2 separate regions of the Homo sapiens genome follow, and region 1 is linked to region 2. The links are contacts of gene promoters, found by promoter capture Hi-C in blood cells and fetal thymus (Javierre and others, 2016). All regions are on one chromosome and are shown on one strand. Each heading gives the region's core, a stretch centred on a gene start or on the middle of the fragment in contact. The rest is flanking DNA. Distances are from core to core; before and after follow the strand shown. Region 1 holds the start of AOPEP (aminopeptidase O (putative)). Region 2 holds the start of TSTD2 (thiosulfate sulfurtransferase like domain containing 2).

Region 1 (3,041 bases), core at 243-2,742, 2.9 Mb before region 2:
ATTATTCCTGAAATTTGTCCATTTCTATCATTTCTTACCTGCTCATTGCAAAAGCAACTCTTCTCTTTGCATCCTTTTAAATTGTTTCTCAAAAGTTTCATGTATACACAGCAGCTAGCAGGGTGATGTTATAAAACTAGATCCTGTCACTTACGTGTTGATAACTCTTCACTAGTTTCCCCTTACACTTCGAATAAACTCGTATTCCTCACAGGAACCCAGAGAGTCTGTGCATGATGGGGACTCTCCTTGCCTTCTTGATCTCATCCTCTGTTCTTCCCATGACCTACTTTCTCACTTTCTCCAAGGCACCACATTCTGCCCCTTCCCTATTGCTTGCTCACATGTAGATTCTTCTCTTGGCTGTTCTTTCCTTAGCTCTCCACAGAGTTGGCTGCTTCTCAGTTTACTGAACCTCTTCAGAGGGCACTTTCTTGACATCTCAAATCAAAAGGTCACCTGTCTTCCTTTAATTTCTCAGCAACTTATTTTCCTTCTACTTTTTTTTTTTTTTTTGAGATGGAGTCTCGCTGTCGCCCAGGTTGGAGTGCAGTGGCGCGATCTCGGCTCACTGCAGGCTCCGCCCCCCGGGGTTCCCGCCATTCTCCTGCCTCAGCCTCCCGAGTAGCTGGGACTACAGGCGCCCACCACCTCGCCCGGCTAATTTTTTGTATTTTTAGTAGAGACGGGGTTTCACCGTGTTAGCCAGGATGGTCTCGATCTCCTGACTTTGTGATCCGCCTGCCTCGGCCTCCCAAAGTGCTGGGATTACAAGCGTGAGCCACCGCGCCCGGCCTTTCCTTCTACATTTAATGTTTGCTTTCTCAACTAGAAAGTAATCCCCATGAGGGAAGGCACAGCGTCTGTCTTGTTCCTGGTTGTTTCCCCAGCTTTTGTTAAGGGTGCTTGCCTGGCACACAGGAGGACCTTAAATTGTGGTGGAATTAATATGTGAACAATAGTCACATGCAGCAGAGGTGAGACTAGGCTAAGGAATAAAATTGCACATCTGTATTTCAGTAACTTTTTTTAAATTTTATTTGAAACAGGGTCTTGCTCTGTGGCTCAGGGTGGAGTGTAGTGGCACGTTCATAGCTCATTGCAGCCTCGAACTCCTGGACCTAAGCAATCCTCCTGCCTCAGCCTCCATAGTAGCTGGACCACAGGTGCACGCCACCACACTCGGCTAATTTTTTAATTTTTTTGTAGAGACGGGGCCTCCCCAGGTTGCCCAGGCTGGTGATTTTTTTCTTAAGCTTCATAAAGATTTTGCAATTAGGAATACTAGGGTACCAGGGCAACTCTACAAGCCCTAGCCAGCCAAGCTGCTCGCGCCCTCCTATGACCGCGGCAGCTCCGCGCCTGCGCAGATCTCCCCCGGGCGGTCTCGCCCTCTCATCCTAAGGGGGCGGGCCTAGCGGAAGGCGGGTCAGGCAGAATGCGGCCCCGGGCGCGTGTGGATGACGTCACCCGGCGCGTGCCGGGGTAGCCCGTAGTAACCCCGAGTCTGCGGAAGTGGTGACCCGTGGGACGCGGCTGAGACAGGTAACCTGTTCGCTCCCTGTTGGGTCCCTGCCTTCCTCTCCTCCGGCGTCGGGATGGCGGCGGGGACAGCATCATTCCGTTCTGAAGGCGACGGGGAACCCTCCCTTACCCTCACTTTTGCTCGACCAGCGAGGACCCGCATCCCCTCCTCAGTTCTCCCAGACTCCTGGGGCTGAAACCCATCCTGGGGACTGGGCGGAGCGGTCACATCTTACCACCTCAGCTGTAGAGGTGGCCACGGGCTCTGGCTGTCTTCTCCCCGGCGGCACAGACCTTTCTCAGCCTCTGGGTGCCTCCTCCTTCGTCTCTTGCCTCCAGGCCCTCGGTCACCTGCCGGTCTCGGCTTCTAGCCCCACAGGGCTCATCTCCAGTCTTAAGTAGGCAGAACAGTTTCGATTCGATTCATTTCCACTTGCAGTGAAACCCATCCGCCTCTTCTTCCCCCGGAGGATCTTTACTGAGAGCACCACATTTTGAGTTTTGGGGTCCCTATAGAACATTCATACTGTTAGTCTGGAGTTTTGTTCATGAACGCATGCATGGGCGGGGAGGGGGTGGCACAGTAATGTGATTATGATTATCTATTGTGATAATAAAATATCCACTTAGGATCCAATCCACTGTTGAGATGCATGGAACAGTTAATAGCATTGCATAAAATGCCCCTTGTACCTGATTTCTTTTTGGTTTTCGTGCAATGATGACAATTACCCTTGCAAAGGTAGCCCTCAAAATAAGTAACATAACCCGCTAGGGATGTTTAGATCGCAAAAAAACAACAATAAGGTTCATATGGTTGATAAAGAAATAATATGGGTTATTACAAAACCAGACAGAATAGATGCTGAGTATATGGGACGAGAAGCAGAATTCTGAAATCCTTGATCTCATTGATTGTTTGGTTTTGTATTTTTAAAATACTTTTAGTCTGTTCCATTTTTGAATAGTGTATATTGTGCTTCGTATAAGTCTGGGAAGCCTTCCAATGACTTGCTAATTGGGAAGATTAGATTCTTCCAATATTTGGGGGACAAAGTAGAATAAGGTTAGGGTATAATAATAGTTGCTTACTGTTGGCCCATCTGCTTTATCCCAGGTACTGTGTTCAACACTTTGCATATGTTTTCTCCTTACTTCATACAACCACCTCGTGAGTTAGGAATTATTACCCCCAATTTATAGAGAAGGAAATTGAGTTTCGGTTATATGAAATTGACTTGCTAAAAATTCACAGTTAACTAAATGGCAAAATCAAGATTTAAATTCAGGTCTGAATATAACTTCAAAGCCTGCACTTTTCTTAAAGGACTCTACTAATGCTCAAATTTTAGGCTTTTTACAATAGTTGCACACAATTTTATGAGTTTGTTCACCTACACAAATGATTTAACACTTTTTAATATCTTTAATACTGTGTTAAGTTCCCATATTCCTGGAGTTAAAACACCTGGAAAGCTTAATTTGTGATCCTTCCTGCGTGCGCGCATGCACACACA
Region 2 (3,441 bases), core at 581-3,080:
CCTCCTTTGGGAGCATGAGAAGTAACTATTAAAAAAATAAGTCAGACTGGCCCTGCACAGAGGCTCATGCCTGTAATCTCAGCACTTTGGGAGGCCAGGAGTTCAAGACCAGCCTGGCCAACATGGCGAAACCCCATCTCTACTAAAAATATACAAATTAGCCTGGTGTGGTGGCGCATGTCTGTAATTGCCGCTACTTGGGTGGCTAAGGCACAAGAATTGCCTGAACCTAAAAGGCAGAGGTTACAACGAGCCAAGACCGTGCCACTGCACTCCAGCCTGGGCAACAGAGCGAGACCCTGTCTCAAAAAAAAAAAATCATACTCCAATGACTTCTCAATTCACTTGGATAATGTCCAAAGTCCTCACAGAGCACCTTCCCCCTACCTCTCTGATCTCATCTACCACTCTCCCGTTGCTCACTACCTATGATGGCACTATTTGTGGGTATTCCTGAATGGGTCGTTAGAATATATCAGCGCCAAGAGAGCAGGGGTTTTCCTTTGTTCACCTCTACATCCTCAGCATTCAGAACTCTGCCTGGCACCTAGGAGGTGCTAAATGCTAATAAATATAATATTCGTTGAATGAAATAAAACAGTGATTGGGTAACCAAAGAAGGCCTCACTAAGGACCTGACATTTGAGCTGAGACCTAAGTGACCAAGAGCCAGCCACGCAGATTTAGAACCAGAGACCTTCAGGTAAAGGAAATAGTATAAGTTCCTAAAATAAGAACAAGCTTGACTTATTGTAAGAACAGAAAGAGTGGTTGGAGTACAGTGAGGAGAAGTAGAACCCCACAGGCCATGGCATGGAGTGTGCAATGGAAAGTCGTAGGAGACTTTTTTTTTTTGACACGGTCTCACTTTGTTGCCCAGGCTGGAGTGCAGTGTGCGATCACCGCTCACTGCATTCTCGACCTCCTGGGCTCAAGGGATCCTCCCACCTCGGCCCCCAACCCTCCCCTCGAGTAACTGGGACTACAGGCGCCAAACACTAGGCTCAGCTAATTTTTTTTTTTTTCCTGTAAAGACGGTGTTCGCCTTGTTGCCCAGGTGGGTCTTGAACTCCTAGGCTCAAGCGGATCCGCCCGCGTCGGCCTCCCATAAGTGTTAGGATTACAAGCGTTAGCTACCCCGCCCGGCCGTCATAGGAGACTTTTAAACAAAGCAGTAACACGATCTGATTCTGGATTTGTGTTGAAAGCAGAGCAGGCAGGGTTTACAGATAATTGTTATGTAAAAAGAGGGAAAAGAGCTAAGAAAGACTCTAAATTTTTGGATTAAGCGGCCGACGGATGACGTCATTTACTGAAATGGGTAAGACCGAAGGAGAATTAGGCCGGGAGAGTGAAATTTCAGATGGCCATGGACAAAGCAGATAAGCCAGTATGGTGCTCATAAAGACATCAGGGGAGGGGACGCTCACACACAGGCATATAGGTACCCAATAACCCTTGAAAACAGATTACTAAAACAATCATTTGTTCCTTCCTAAGCAAACAACTTAAGGAAAATGACGGCCAGCCGGCAAGCCCGGAGCCGCACGCTCGCGTCAGGGCCGGCCTTTCCATACCAAGGGGCGGCACGTGCGGCACCGCCTCCCGCCCAGGCCCCACCCCGCATGCCGAGCTTGGCCCAACCTCTCCTCCCACTTTTCCCAAGGCGGCAAAAGCCGGAAAGTGGGAGTAGATGAGCACATACCCGCCAGTCCTGATCCTTTCTAAGGTCTCTCTTCCCTGCACTGTCTCCGCCTAGCAATTGTCACTGCTCACCGCCCTCGAGCCTATTCCCCCGCCGCGTATTTGGGTAGAAAAGCTCGCTCGTGACGTCACCAAGCTCCGGAAGTCTCCTGGCGTCGGCGCAAGGGCCGCCGGGAAAACCATTGAGAGGCCACCGGGAAACCATTGAGAAGCCCCGGAGGACCGGCCTGAGCGGAGGCGGAGACTAGAGCGGCCGCCGGCACGACCCGCCTTCAGGCGTACGACGACCGCGGCCCGGGGGCTCTGAGTGGCCAAAGCGGCGGCACTTTCTGCGTGGCCCCGGAAGGACATAGAGCGGAAGGCGGGAGAAAGAAGTAGCCGGCAGGCGGAGGCAGCCCGAGGGGGCGGTTGCATGTGTGCCAGACGTTCGTAGCCCACTGAGCTTCCTCACGCCGGCTGTCGCAGCGCCTAGCCCCACCCGGCGGCCTCTCCTGCGCTTCCGGGGCCGTGGCGAGCTAGTGCGCCTGCGTGCCGGCCCATCCGCGCGCCTTGCAGCTGTCCTTGCGTCGGCCAGCGGCCAGACAGTTCCTGCAGCGCTTACCGCCTGGCCTCTCGGTTCCGCGGCGCACCGGAGGGCAGCATGTCGCGGCGGCGGCACAGCGACGAGAACGACGGTGAGTGCCTGCGGCCCGGCCACGGAGGCCGCTCCCGGTTGGGAGCCGAGGCTCGGCGTCTTTGGGTGTCCACGGAAGAGACTGGAAGCTCTTCTCCCCGGGAACGTGCGGGGAGCCGCGGAGGGAAAGAGGAGAATATGGTGGCGGTGTGGTCGGGCGGCTTCTAGAAAGCGACTTCTCCCCCGCCCCAGTTCTTTGAGTCAAGGGCCGATCCTCGGGAAAGAAGGCCTGGTGAACCCCATGGGTAGACCCTTGGTCTCTAAGGATGCTTCAGAATTTCGTCCGTAAAACCACGGAGCAGGGAAGCACACCTGTGTCTGTGCTGCCGCCTCTTAGGGACCCACTGGTCCTAGTGTCTCGTTTTAACCTTCAAAGCTGCACCTGAAAAGGGCTCGGAAGAATTCACTGAAGGAAAGGACTGAGAGATCTCATGAGTTGCAGTCTGAACTCTGTTCCGGTAGTGGTTATCCGTTGATTTCACTTCTTTCAAGCTGCAGGGAAAGAATATTGTCTTACCTGCGCCCAAGAGGTCCCTAATAAACAGACACAGGTTACTGCAGATTTTGAACTGGCCGTAAGCGCATTTCCCTTGTGTGAGAGAGAGTGCTAGAAAACTAACTTCAGGCCTCTGAGAGAGTTAGAACAGGGGTTCCCATCTCCGTTTGGATGATTGTGCTCGTGGAGATCAGTGTTGCCTTCATAAAGATGGAATAATTCTAGTTTTAACAACAACAAAAAAAAGATGCTTATATTACACATAAGCCTTACAATCGGTCAAAAACACAAATCCACACACCAAAAAAGTAAAACTTAGAGTAATTCTATTGTTAACATTTTAGTGTATTGTTTTTTGAAGAGAGTGTATAGTAGTGGTTAAGAGATGAGACTTTGGAACCAGAGGGTTTAGGTTCAAAGCCAGACCCTACCATTTACTTGGTGATCTTGTCCAGGTTATGAAATCTCCTTAAACTTTAGTCTGTAATACAGAAGTAATGATATTTATATCTTCTGGTTTTTGTGAAGGTTAAATGAGGTAATACACATCAGCAACAATGATGTTTTA

What was found. The method cuts DNA at HindIII sites, captures the fragments that hold promoters and counts their contacts. A CHiCAGO score of 5 or more calls a contact.
Region 1: the fragment with the promoter of AOPEP here is called in contact with the fragment with the promoter of TSTD2 in region 2 in 1 of 17 cell types (naive CD4 T cells); the score reaches 5.7 in naive CD4 T cells.

Annotation. Positions count from the first base shown.
Region 1 is chr9:94,725,207-94,728,247 of GRCh38, forward strand. It overlaps AOPEP (aminopeptidase O (putative)), which reads left to right and starts at 1,493. Exons shown (of 17, transcript NM_001193329.3): 1 at 1,493-1,545. RefSeq lists enhancers at 1,105-1,274, 1,220-1,762, 1,285-1,764. The HindIII fragment of the contact is 1,744 bases long and covers 1,255-2,998 here.
Region 2 is chr9:97,631,538-97,634,978 of GRCh38, forward strand. TSTD2 (thiosulfate sulfurtransferase like domain containing 2) reads right to left here and starts at 1,831. Exons shown (of 10, transcript NM_139246.5): 1 at 1,706-1,831. NCBP1 (nuclear cap binding protein subunit 1) reads left to right here and starts at 2,284. Exons shown (of 23, transcript NM_002486.5): 1 at 2,284-2,378. The coding sequence starts at 2,345. RefSeq lists enhancers at 1,752-2,081, 1,850-2,144, 2,309-3,144, 2,702-2,781. The HindIII fragment of the contact is 4,009 bases long and covers 740-3,441 here.